Regions from separate parts of the Homo sapiens genome. Here regions 2 and 3 are each linked to region 1. Evidence: promoter capture Hi-C in 16 types of primary human blood cells and fetal thymus (Javierre and others, 2016). All regions are on one chromosome and are shown on one strand. The core of a region is centred on a gene start or on the middle of the fragment in contact, and the rest is flanking DNA. Distances in the headings are between cores, read along the strand shown. Region 1 holds the start of PLAGL2 (PLAG1 like zinc finger 2). Region 2 overlaps ASXL1 (ASXL transcriptional regulator 1). Region 3 overlaps NOL4L (nucleolar protein 4 like).

Region 1 (4,036 bases), core at 1,170-3,669:
TCAATCCAAGGAGGGACAGCCAAGGTACGGTTTAGCAGCTTTGCAAATGCCAGAGAGCCCAAGAAGTGATCGGCCTGGTTCCCAAAGCGCCCTGGAAATGGTACATTGCGGGTGAGGTGAGGCCTGGGGCATGGAGGGCATAGAGCATGCAGGGCTCAGAAAGGTTGTGGAGCCAGGGGTAGAAAGTCAGGGATACCAAGGAGAACTAGGGGAGCTGGCAGCATAAGAACAAGTCTGGACTCTTGGGTCTGATATCCAAGGCTCTTCAGGTCCTGCAACAACTGCTTCCGCCACTCCAGGTTTCTTGCTGTTTCCCCAACATGCTCTACAATTCCCATCCCCACCCAATGCCTCTGATCTTGCTGTCCCTCAGCCAGAAGAGCTTCTACCTCTATCTCCATTCACCTGCACATGGACGGGCAACTCGAATGCCTCATTCACTGGGCTCCTTTCACCAATCCCCTGCCATACTCACTCTCCCTCCTTTACCTCCCACCTTGGCTCTGAGCTACTTCAGTTCTTCAATTTTCCTCAAGTATCTTTGCTCACTTCCTGGCCTTCGTACTGGCTGATTCCTCAGCCTGTGAATGCCTCAGAAGCAAGGACCCTGTGTGATTCCTTTTCTTAATCCCAGCATGGCACCTGTTCATTCATTTCACAAATATGATTGAGAGGCCACAATGTGCCAGACTCTGTGCTAGGTGCTGGGATACAGGAATGAACAAGAAGGACAAGGCCTCTGCCCCTAAGGCACTCACAGTTCACTGCAGAGACACTAAACATGTAAACAAATACATGAAAAATGTTGATAATTGCCAGAAAGAGATGAAAAAAGTTTGGTGATAGGGTAATGAGGAGATTACTTGGGTAGAGGTCAGTGAAATCCTTTCTGGTGACATTTAGGCTGAGATCTAAAGGATGGGAAACAGCTGGTCAGGCAGAAATGGAGGAGAGGATTCCAGGCATAGGGACCGCCACCTGCAGCAGTGCAGACTGGAAGACCTGAGCATGTGTGAGGAACGCAAAGGAGTTAAGTGTGGCTGCAGCTGGAGGATCAGCAGAGAAGGGAGTTGTGGAGATGGCCAGTGGAGGCCACATCATTCAGGGCCCTGAAAGTCATGGTCAGGAGTCTGGAAGCCACTGGGGGCCTTAAGATCATCCACTTCCACAATGATGATCCACCATACCCATTTCAACTGTGCACCTGGCATGGTCTTTAGATTCTCCCCTACCCTGCTCTCTTTATTTTCCCTTAGTATTCATCATCCTCTATGAAACTATGTATTTATTGTTTTATGTTTACCCCTTTTTGGGTTTGCTTGTTTCGAGACAGGGTCTCACTCTGTCACCCAGGCTGGCAGTGCGGTGGCACGATCAGAGCTCACTGCAGCCTCGAATTCCTCGGCTCAAGAGATCCTCCCACCTCAGCCTCCCAAGTAGCCGCCCAGATAACTCCCAAGGGACTACAAGCACACGATACCACGCTCTGCTTTTTTTTTTTTTTTTTTTTTTTGAGATTGGATTTTCACTATGTTGCCTAGGCTGATCTCGAGCTCCTGGCTTCAAGTGATCCTGCCTCGGTCTCTCAAAGTGGTGGGATTACAGAAGTGAGCCACCGCGCCTGGCCTACTTATTCTCAATTGTTTGTCTTCCCCAACTAAAATGAAGGCTCTACAAGGACACGGAGTTTATCTTATTCACTGCGGTATTCCCAGTACAGAGAACAGGGCCCGGCACAGAATAGGTGCCCCATAAATATTTGCTGAATCAATGAAAAATCACCAGGAGCCAGCGTGGGTCAGTGACATCAAGTCCTGCCCCACTAACTCCATTTACTGGACCCTGGACTGGCTTAGACCTCAAGCAAGTCACGTAACCTCTCCCAGCCTCAGTTTTCTCATCTGTCAAATGGAAAGTTGGACACGTTGGCCCCTCTGTGCCCTTGCAACTAAGGCAGAGAGGAGAAGAGCATGCCCCGTCCCGCTCTGAGGTTCTCTCCTGGACCTGTGAAGGTGTCTCTGGGCGCATCTGAGGAGTGGCTTTTCCTCTCCCGGCCTCAGTTTCTCCATCTGAGCAGAGGGCTTGGGAGGCCTTACCCATGCAGGGGCAGTAGAGCAGGTAACCGGCCGGGTCCCAGGAGCCCGCAGGCATCCCCGGGAGCGGCAGAAGCAGCAGCAGGAAAGACACGCTCAGCGGCCGTGCCCACGCGGCGGCGCCCATGTCGGCCCGGGAACCCGAGCCAGCCGCGGCGCACAGTCGGGGAGGGAAGGAGGGACGCGAGCGCCCGCCCCGCTCCCAGCGGTCCCTGCGCGCCGCCCGCGCACCGCCCCGGCCGCTCTAGCCCGCGGGCGGGCGGGACCATAGAGATCCCGCGGCACCGCCCCCTCCACGACCCGAGCGCCCGCTCGCGCGGCTCCCACAATGCACCGCACAATGGCCCGACCGCCGCCACTACCGGGGCCTGAGGGGGCCTGGCGGAGCCCGAGCGCGGCCCGGCCCGCAGCGTGGGGCCCCGAGCGCGGTGAGTGCCGGCGAGGGCCCCAGGGGACGGCGGGGAGAGGGGCGGGAGGCCGTCTCGCTGCGTCCGCGCGCCCTGTACCCGGAGCGGCGGCGCGCCTCATCTCGGGCCCCTCAGCGCGGTCGCCCACACCCCCGACCCGGGGCCCGGTCTGCGCCAACCCGGCCCCAGATAGGCCCTGGGGTGACGAAAACTCTCCCTGGACCCCATACCTGTGTCTGGGGGACCCGAGGAAGCCACCGGTCCCCTCCCTTCCGAGACCTGGAGACGCAGTCCTGAGGGTCCCCCATTCCCGACCCCTAGGCTCCCTGGAGACCCAGATAAGGCGCTGCTGACCTTACCAGGGACCCGGGTCTGGGGGACGCAGATAAGCTGCACCTGCTCCCTCCCTCCGACACGCCTACCCAGACCCACATAACCCCCTTTCCTGCTCCAGATAGCCCGCTCTGTACCCTGTTTCATTTTCCAGACTTACATAACTCCCTTTGAGGCTTCCCTCAAATATCTGGGTCTGGAGAAGTCGAATAAGCCCCACCTGTAGTTCCCTCCTCAGTGGCCATACTCCCAGGCTTTCGACATCTTCCATCCCGTTACCCATTTTGAGACCCTCTTGAAATTCAGAGGATACACTTCTGACTATCCCCATCCCCCCAGCCTTCCAGCCCTTATAATCCCCCATTTCATTCTTGTGGGGATCCCTTAGAGACCCAGGAAAGTTGCTCATGATTCCTTCCCATCCTCGCTCTTCCTTCCCATCCCAGAGACTCCCTCCAGACTTCTCCCTGGATTTCCTTTGCTTCTCCAGCCCTCATCCACTCCCATCTCTCCCAGGCTCGGGGAATTGAACCTTTCCCACACCACAGTGGGGTGATCTAAAAGTTGGCCTGGGACCAGGCTGTGGCCCACCTTGGTGGGGAGAAAGGGGCCTGTTAGGTGGAGGATATGGGGACACCTGTGTGGGGGAATCGGTGCTTTCACCTGCAAGCTTAGCCTGTCTCCTGGCTTGTGTGTTTTTCCACCTGTCAGCCATGGGACTGTGTGTAGAGTCTGGTCTTGGGTTTCTAACCTTTCTCTCCTAAGGTGAGGCCACCAGATTGGGAGCGGGGGTGTCGAATCACGTTTTCTCCCCATGAAAATGGGGTTGTGATGAGTTGCAGCCATTTGTTCAAGGCCTCCCCAGGAGTGGGAGGCAGCAGGAATCTGAGGAAATAGTGAATCAAAGAGACTCCAAAGAGGGCCCATCTACACTGACAGAAGAATTAGCAGCCTGAGAGTAAATCCAACCCCTGTTAATCCTGTTTGATGTTTCTTGGAATGGTGCAAGTCATTGAGACTCTCCAGCCTCCCTGTAATTTAATTCTCCCACCACTCTGGAGTGGGCGGGGGGGAAGGGGGCGACAGCATTCCCATTTCCCCTCTTCTCACTGTTTTCCAGCCAACCAGTGTGTTTTAGGATTTGTTTCTGGTTCTGAGATCAGGATCTGTTTTTTGTTTTGTTTTGTTTTGTTTTTTCTTTCC
Region 2 (3,959 bases), core at 21-2,520, 220 kb before region 1:
AGCTCAACTAAACTACAGCATTAGGAATGCAAAGACGGGTAGGTAATCTAAAGGAAAGCAAGAAAATAACTTTCATAAAGTCAAGACAGAAGTTACCTTCAGCTGGAAGAATGGGGCTGTGACTGGGAAGGGGCAGTGGGGGGTAGGGGAGGTGCGCCTGGCTGCTGGCCATATTTGATGTCGTGATCTAAGTGGCAGTTACAGGGTGTTCACTTTATAATAATTCCTTAAGCTGAACATTTGTGTCCTATGCATTCACTGTATTACATTCCCACAATTATAAAAGTTTAAAAACAAAAAATTTTAAGGTATTTCCTTCAAGGAACACTACCACAGATAGCCATTTAAAAGAAAGCTGTACAGCATTTAATGACAAGAGAAACGATGATACACAAGCTTAATTAGGCAATTAAATTCATACAGTATGATTCTATCATCTTTTTTAAAAAATGAAAATTTGAATGTGTTTGCATAGAAAAATGCAAGAGAAATTCTTACTAAGCTGTTGGCCACCACCATCTCTAGGTGGCAGTTTTTTTGTTTGTTTTTTGAGACAAGAGTCTCGCTCTGTCACCCAGGATGGAGTGCAGCGGCATGATCTCGGCTCACTGCAACCTCCTCCTCCTGGGTTCAAGCGATTTTCCTGCCTCAGCCTCCCGAGCAGCTGGGATTACAGGTGGCTGCCACCACGCCCAGCTAATTTTTGTAGTTTTAGTAGATATGGGGTTTCACCATGTTGGCCAGGATGGTCTTGAAATCCTGACCTCAGGTGATCCACCCACCTCAGCCTCCCAAAGTACTGGGATTACAGGTGTGAGCCACCGTACCTAGCCTAGGTGGTAGAGTTTTAGTAAGTGCTTTATATTCTTTTCAATTGTGGGTATTTTCTACTATTAACATGTATTGTTTTCTGTGATCAAGAAAATAACAATGAAAAAGAAAAATTAGGTGTTAAATGCTTTACCAAGAGCTAAATCAAAATTTCCTTCCTCTAGGTCCTAGAGTCTGGGGAAACCAAGTACTGTTTACAAATCTCATTAGTTAAACAAACAGGAATAGGGCCTGGTTGTCTGCAATTCAAACTACCCAGAAGTTTCTAAAGCCATGCATTTTCAGTAAAAAGACAAGGAAAACAAAACTTTTAAGAGTAAGATTTGCTATTCTAATACTGCATAATTTTTATTGTACAGACAGGGTCTTGGTCTGTTGCCCAGGCTGGTCTCAAAGTCCTGGGCTTGGCCAGGTGCAGTGGCTCAAGCCTGTAATTCCAGCATTTTGGGAGGCCAAGCCAGGCAGATCACTTGAGGTCCAGAGTTCGAGACCAGCCTGACCAACATAATGAAACCCTGACTCTACTTAAATACAAAAATTAGTTGGGTGTGGTGTACATGCCTGTATTCCCAGCTACTCGGGAGGTTGTGGCAGGAGGATCGCTTGAACCCGGGACATGCAGGCTGCAGTGAGCCAAGATCATGCCATTGCACTCCAGCCTGGGCAACAGGGTGAAACTCCATCTCAAATACATAAATAAATAAATAAATAAAAAATGCTGGGTATTGTGGCCCACACCTGTAATCCAGCACTTTGGGAGGCCGAGATGGGGGGACCACCTGAAGCTGGGAGTTCGAGACCAGCCTGGGCCAACATGATGAAACCCCCCCTACTAAATATACACACACACACAAAAAATTAGCTAGGCATGGTGGCACACACCTGTAATCCCAGCTACTTGGGAAGCTGAGGCACAAGAATCGCTTGAACCTGGGAGGTGGAGGTTGCAGTGAGCTGAGATCATGCCATTGCACTTCAGCCAGGGCGACAGAGTGAGACTGTCTCAAAAAATAAAAAATTAAAAAAAAAAATCAAACTCCTGGACTCAAGCGATCCTCCCACCTCAGCCTCCCTAAGTGCTAGGTTACAGGCCAATTCTACAATTAGCCACATCCAGCCAATTCTGCATTTGTAAAAGATCATTAATCTTTCCATATAAACTCTATAAGTTTGACATAATTGACTTTTCATACATTAACCCTATATGTCTGACAAAAACGAAATGGGTTACTGAAAATAACAGGTGCCAGAAAACATGCCCTAGGATTCAAGATTTTAACATTTTACAAGAATAATTTTCATCATGAAGCTTTTAAAAAAATTAATAATGGGTGATCTTTCACTAAATCCTACATATAAAAAATTCTATAGGCCGGGCACGGTGGCTCATGCCTGCAATCCCAGCACTTTGGGAGGCCAAGGCGGGTGGATCACAAGGTCAGGAGTTCGAGACCAGCCTGGCCAACATGGTGAAACCCCGTCTCTACTAAAAATACAAAAATTAGCCGGGCATGGTGGTGCACGCTTGTAATCCCAGCTACTCGGGAGGCTGAGGCACAAGAATCACTTGAACCTGGAAGGCAAAGGTTGCAGTGAGCCAAGATCATGCCATTGCACTCCAGCCTGGGAGACAGTGCAAGACTCTGTCTTTAAAAAAAAAAAAAAAAAAAAAAATTAACCAATCCTTCACCACACAGTTACCATGAGAGGGAGAGTGTGAGATGGGGAGTGTGAAGACAATTAAGATCTACTCTCAGCAAATTTCAAGACACTGGGATATTTGAATGTGAACTGCATACTAGATGGTAATGCTGCATTAATGTTAAATTTTCTGAGTGTGATAACTGTATTGTGCTTACGTAGGAGAATGCCCTTGGATCAATGTATACCTCCTCCTATCCTTCCCCTATTTTTTTAAATTAAAGTTTAATTTAAACACAGTGATATGCACAGATCTTAGGTGTACCATTTAATGAGTTCTAACAAATGCATATCAAGATATAGAACATTTCCAACACCCCCAAAAGTTTCCTTGTGCCCCTTCCTAATCAACCCCCATTTGAAACCACCCCTCTCGGCCGGGCGCGGTGGCTCACACCTGTAATCCCAGCACTTTGGAAGGCCAAGGCAGGCGGATCACGAGGTCAGGAGATCGAGACCATCCTGGCTAACACGGTGAAACCCCGTCTCTACTAAAAATACAAAAAAAAAAAAAAAAATTAGCCAGGAGTGGTGGCGGTCGCCTGTAGTCCCAGCTACTCGGGAGGCTGAGGCAGGAGAATGGCATGAACCCGGGAGGCGGAGCTTGCAGTGAGCCGAGATCACGCCACTGCACTCCAGCCTGGGTGACAGAGCCAGACTCCGTCTCAAAAAAAAAAAAAAAAAAAAGAAAAGAAACCACCCCTCTCACCCCACGAAGGCAATCATTGTTCTGACTTCTATCTCCATAACGTACTTTTGCCTGTTCTTGGTCTTCATGTAAATGGACTCATACATATATATTCTTTTGTATCTGGCTTCTTTCACTCAGCCTGTTTATGCTATTCATCTACATTGTTGCATGCATCAGTAGTTCATTATTTGTTATTACAGACTAATATTCTCATATACAACCATTTGTATATTCTCTCTTGATGGACATTTGGGTTATTTCCAGGTTCTAGCTATTATGAATAAAGCTATTATGAACATTCTTGTAAATTTTTGGAGACGTTTTCATTTCTCCTGAATAACTATCTAGGAGTAGAAATGCCGAGTCATAAGATGGATGAAAGCTAACTTTATTAAAAAAAAAATTATACTCCCAACAGCACTTGAGGAGAGTTCCAGTTGATCCAAATCCTCACCATTATTTGAAGCTGGCAGTTTTATTTTAGCCATTCTAGTGGGAGTATAATGGTACCTCATTGTGGTTTTAATTTTAATTCAGAGTGCTAGATTTCAATGATTTTCATTTTAATTTGCCTAATGTCTAAAGATGTTGAGCACTTTTTTTTTTTTGAAGTTTTTTTTTTTTTAAATTTTACTTTAAGTTCTGGGATACATGTGCAGAATGTGCAGGTTTGTTACATAAGCATACATGTGCCATGGTGGTTTGCTGCACCTATTAACCCATCATCTAGGTTTTA
Region 3 (4,266 bases), core at 217-2,716, 230 kb before region 1:
GTGACTCTATTAATGGCTTCACCTCTAAATTATATTTTTACAGATATGCACCTATGCAACTTAACGTGGCTCTTCTAAGCAGGTGAGGACTTCCTCCTCAATGCTCTCTATAAAAATTATTTGTGTTCTATATAGTGAGTTTTACCAGTAAATGTGGCTTAATATTTTAATTCTTAGAATGTGTCTTCTCTACGTGATGTGACTAAATTCTGTTTTGTTTGTGGAATGACTAGCACAGGCCGACTCCCTCTCTCCCTCACTTAACAAAAGACCAATGAGCTGTTAATCGAGCTGTTATCTCCATGGTATTACTTGCTAAATGCACTGATTTCATAAGTATGTGGAATCCTTTTCCTTTTGAATCTGTATATCATATATAAGACTGAATCTACTTAATAAACACTGAACAACAAACCGAATGCTCTGCTTCCACTGTGTCCTATCAACAGCAGCACCGCCTGCCACTTCTCATCCTTCCTCATCTAGTTGGGCACCGAAACATCTTTCTACTAGTAGATTCCACCTTTTCCTAGCCAATAGTATGGCACACAGAAGGTCCTCAGTACATTTTCTAGAACAAATAAACCTGTAATTCCAGCACCTCATCTGTTAGAAAGGGAAGGAAATGAACCTTTCCCAGGTGCCCTTCAGTTGCTGAGCACAGGCAGAACTCTCATGCACTGTTTTAAATCTCAGTTCCCTTACCCGCCACGTGCAGACACAGAGGCACACGGGGTACACGCCTTGCTGAAATTCAGTGACCAGCAAAAAACTTGTAGCTTTTCCACAACCTCTCACCCTAGCACATGGCCAACTGACTGAAACCAAATTCCCATAACAATCCCTAAGTGCTAGTTTGGAAAACTGAGCAAACATGATCCCTGGTTCTGAACCTTCAGTGCTGCACATTCCATTCTATGCAAAACCCTGGATCCCACCTTGAAGGAAACAAAAGGGCTGCTTTTCCCAAAGATACTTATTTGTGCTAATTTTTTTTCATCCTATATATATGGTTTAGGTTAAGCTTTAAGGAAAAATGGTAGGAATATGGCTGGGAACCAACATGATCATGGATTTAAAAACAACTTTAGGCATGTTAAAAGCATACATTTGCTAAAATTCCGTGTGTGTGTATATATACACACACATATATACATACATATATACACATATATATACATACATACACACATACACACATATATACACATACATATACACATATATACACATACATATACACATATATACACACATACATATATACATATATATGTATACACATTTATGGCAGTTATTAAAACCTTGATTTTTAAATAACATAAGAATCCTTTTTCTCATAGAAAGTCTGTGCAGTAGCCAAATACATAAAATGGAGAAGGGCATGACTTTGGGGCTGAGACTCACTGAGAGCCAGAAGACGATGGCCCTTGACACCTCCCTTGCCGCTTTCCTTTTGCTGAGGGGCAGCAAATCCTCAGTTAATACCACGGAAATTCCTTCTCCTGCCTCAAATGATCACCACTGAGACTCCTCAAACTATTAAGACTATTAGAAACCCACAACCTGTGACAACAGCTCCAGAACATGGACCCCGCTGGCCTGCTGGCCAGCCCTGCAAACACTTACCTCCTTCCACAGGAAATACTGCAGTCCACCAGAGCACTGAGATTCCCAGGAGAAATTGCCTGAGGGCAGAAAAGTGCTCCCTTATTCTAGTCTGGCTCCTTTGGGGGCTCCGCACCACTGTTGTTAACAGTGGATAAAAGACTTCATCAAATGGGAATGTCCCCTCAGAAGAGTGAACTAAAATGTATTCAATGACAAAACAGGCAAACCTCCCTTTATGAAAAATAGGAAAACATGCATATGCTATTTTTCCAACTTAAAATGCACTAGGGAAGCTTAGTAGTTACATTTCTTTGCAAGAAGAATCTCTGCAAAATCCTATCTTCCCTTAATTGATCTTTTGTATAAACACAGATTTTATTAGGTTTATTCTCAGCCAGTGGTTCTTAAACAAAGGGCCCCAGCTGCCTAAGGAGCTGGTAAATCCTGACACAGTATGCAAAACTTTGTGAGGCCAGGTGTGCTGGCGGGAAGATCGGGAAGATCGCTTGAGGCCTGGAGTTCAAGACTAGTCTGGGCAACAGTCTCTACAAAAAATTTTAATATTAGCTGGGCATGGTGGCACGTGCCTGTAGCCTGAGCTACTTGGGAGGATGAGGTGGAAGGACCACTGGAGCTCAGGAGTTCGAGGCTACAGTGAGCTATGATCACGCCACTGCACTCCAGCCTGAAGAGAGTGAGAGTCTGCAAAAAAACCCCAAAAAACTTTGTATGTGCATTCCATGGGGGGAGAGTTCCCAAAAAAAGGTTAAGACCCACCCATATCAGGTAACACAGCACTGACAACTGTTGTTCTCACAGGGCGTTCGTCTATGGCTTACGGTAGAGATGTTCATTCTAGGCTTTCAAATTGACCAGAGACAAGAGGAAGCATAGGGGTGTTGTCCAATTTTGGAGCAATCTCCAAAGTTCCACATCCTGCCACTTCTATGGCTTCAAACAACACCCACACGAGGGCAACACAGCCTGGGTCCCCTCCTCTCAGGGAGACAGGGCAGGCAGATGCTTTGGCCATCAAGACCCCTGATGGATGCAGGCAGCTCTATTTAGCATGCACACATACCCACACACACTCTAACACAGTCTTACAGCAGGCTGGATAGCAAATAAATGACACCTTGCCAGGCCAGTACCATTCTTCCTATATTCTGAAACATTATTTCCCTTGTCCTTTGGACCATGAGCAAAATAAGCCTTCCTGACCAAATATTCAGTCTAAACTCAGGACTACACTCAACCTTTGGTCAGGTCTGTGGCCTGAGACCAAAAGCCAGGGTCCAAAGTGACTTCACAGCCTGCATCACCCCTCAGCGCAGTGGGCACAAGGCCTACATCCTGACAGCTCCTTTCTGGAGCAAGAGTGAAGTAGCTGGCAGTAGCTGTATAGATTTCTACTATAAGTTCACCTAACAATTATTGCCTTGGCCTGCTGTGAACTAATAGTCATTATGTCCTAGGTGGCAGGCACTAACAACCTCATGAAGTAAGAACTATTACACCCATTCATATATGAGAGTTGGCAGCCTGGTTAAATAACATGGCCCAAGAACACAGAGCTGGCACGTCGCAGAGGCTATACTCTAGGAACTCACTACACCATTCTGCCTCCCTGAGGAGAGGCAACAGGCATTGGAAGGTCCCGATCTGGGACCGTAATGCATTCTGAGCTCCTGCAGACATAAGTGGGCAAATGGATTCTGTGACACAAGGACATATCACCAACAGCAGGCAGTTGCTCAGTCACTACAGGGCCTCCGAACCATCAATTCTCAAAACTGCATGTCGATCAAACGGCAGCAATACAAAATGGCAGCTTGAACTCCCCAAAGGATATCCCACCACAAAGTTTTTCCTCCAATTCACAGGAAAAAATTAATGAATATATGTTTAAACTCCCATCATTTTGCTGTTTTGGCTTATTTATATACTAATAAAATTATTTCTGATAAGCACAAAGTCAATGTATTTACGTACTCTAGAGACGTCTGAGGACTTCTCAAGAAGTCAATCCCTGAAGCACGTCGTCTACTCAGGCTCACGCAACTAGCATCAGACACCCCACCCTGGGCCAGCACCTTCCTCTCACTGCCACCAGAGGCTACAGAAAGAGGTGCTTGTGGTTAAGGTTTTCCAAGGTTAGAGCTAGTCACCCTCCCACAGAAGACCACTAACCATTAGGAAGCCACTTGGCAACCTCAACCTCAGTGAAGCTGTTTGGATGAGTTGCTGCAGAGGGATGTCACAGTTTGTGACTCGCACTCCCAAGGGGAAACATTCTCATTGCTCTCAGTAGAACGCTGACTGCAGTCTATGTGGTGAAGTCCGCCAAGTCATGAATGGCTAAAGACCAGTGAAGCTGCCAAGTCATTCCTTTTGGACTAACCTCCCAAAAGAAGAGCTCCAAGTATAAGAAGAGTAGCTCCAGAGCCAAGGTGAGGAGAGCTGGCGTCTACTCCTTCCCTTCCAGCTCAGCACTCCAGCTGACCTTCCCACACCAGCGAGGCAGCCACAGATGACTGAGACCACAACTGCAGGTTGTACGGGTTTATTGTTCCAATACCACAAGAGACATACAGAAGCAGTGCTTTCTCTGGGCAGCCTCATGGACCAGATCAGTGTCAAACTGTACCCTTGAGT

The links. Contacts are between HindIII fragments. The CHiCAGO score rates a contact against its expected background, and 5 or more counts as called.
Region 2: a fragment that was not itself captured here is called in contact with the fragment with the promoter of PLAGL2 in region 1 in 3 of 17 cell types (erythroblasts, M2 macrophages and megakaryocytes); the score reaches 6.0 in erythroblasts.
Region 3: a fragment that was not itself captured here is called in contact with the fragment with the promoter of PLAGL2 in region 1 in 1 of 17 cell types (erythroblasts); the score reaches 9.9 in erythroblasts.

What each region holds. Positions count from the first base shown.
Region 1 is chr20:32,206,126-32,210,161 of GRCh38, reverse strand. PLAGL2 (PLAG1 like zinc finger 2) reads left to right here and starts at 2,419. Exons shown (of 3, transcript NM_002657.3): 1 at 2,419-2,521. POFUT1 (protein O-fucosyltransferase 1) reads right to left here and starts at 2,282. Exons shown (of 7, transcript NM_015352.2): 1 at 2,097-2,282; 2 at 1-91. The coding sequence starts at 2,220. RefSeq lists enhancers at 1,943-2,072, 1,535-2,448 and a silencer at 2,213-2,632. The HindIII fragment of the contact is 5,170 bases long and covers 1-3,505 here.
Region 2 is chr20:32,421,127-32,425,085 of GRCh38, reverse strand. All of the region lies in intron 4 of ASXL1 (ASXL transcriptional regulator 1), which reads right to left. Among named protein-coding and RNA genes, the nearest start is that of ASXL1, 65 kb to the right of the region's middle. The HindIII fragment of the contact is 1,744 bases long and covers 399-2,142 here.
Region 3 is chr20:32,439,212-32,443,477 of GRCh38, reverse strand. It overlaps NOL4L (nucleolar protein 4 like), which reads left to right. Exons shown (of 11, transcript NM_001256798.2): 11 at 1-419. ASXL1 (ASXL transcriptional regulator 1) reads right to left here. Exons shown (of 13, transcript NM_015338.6): 13 at 4,159-4,266. Among named protein-coding and RNA genes, the nearest start is that of ASXL1, 83 kb to the right of the region's middle. The HindIII fragment of the contact is 880 bases long and covers 1,027-1,906 here.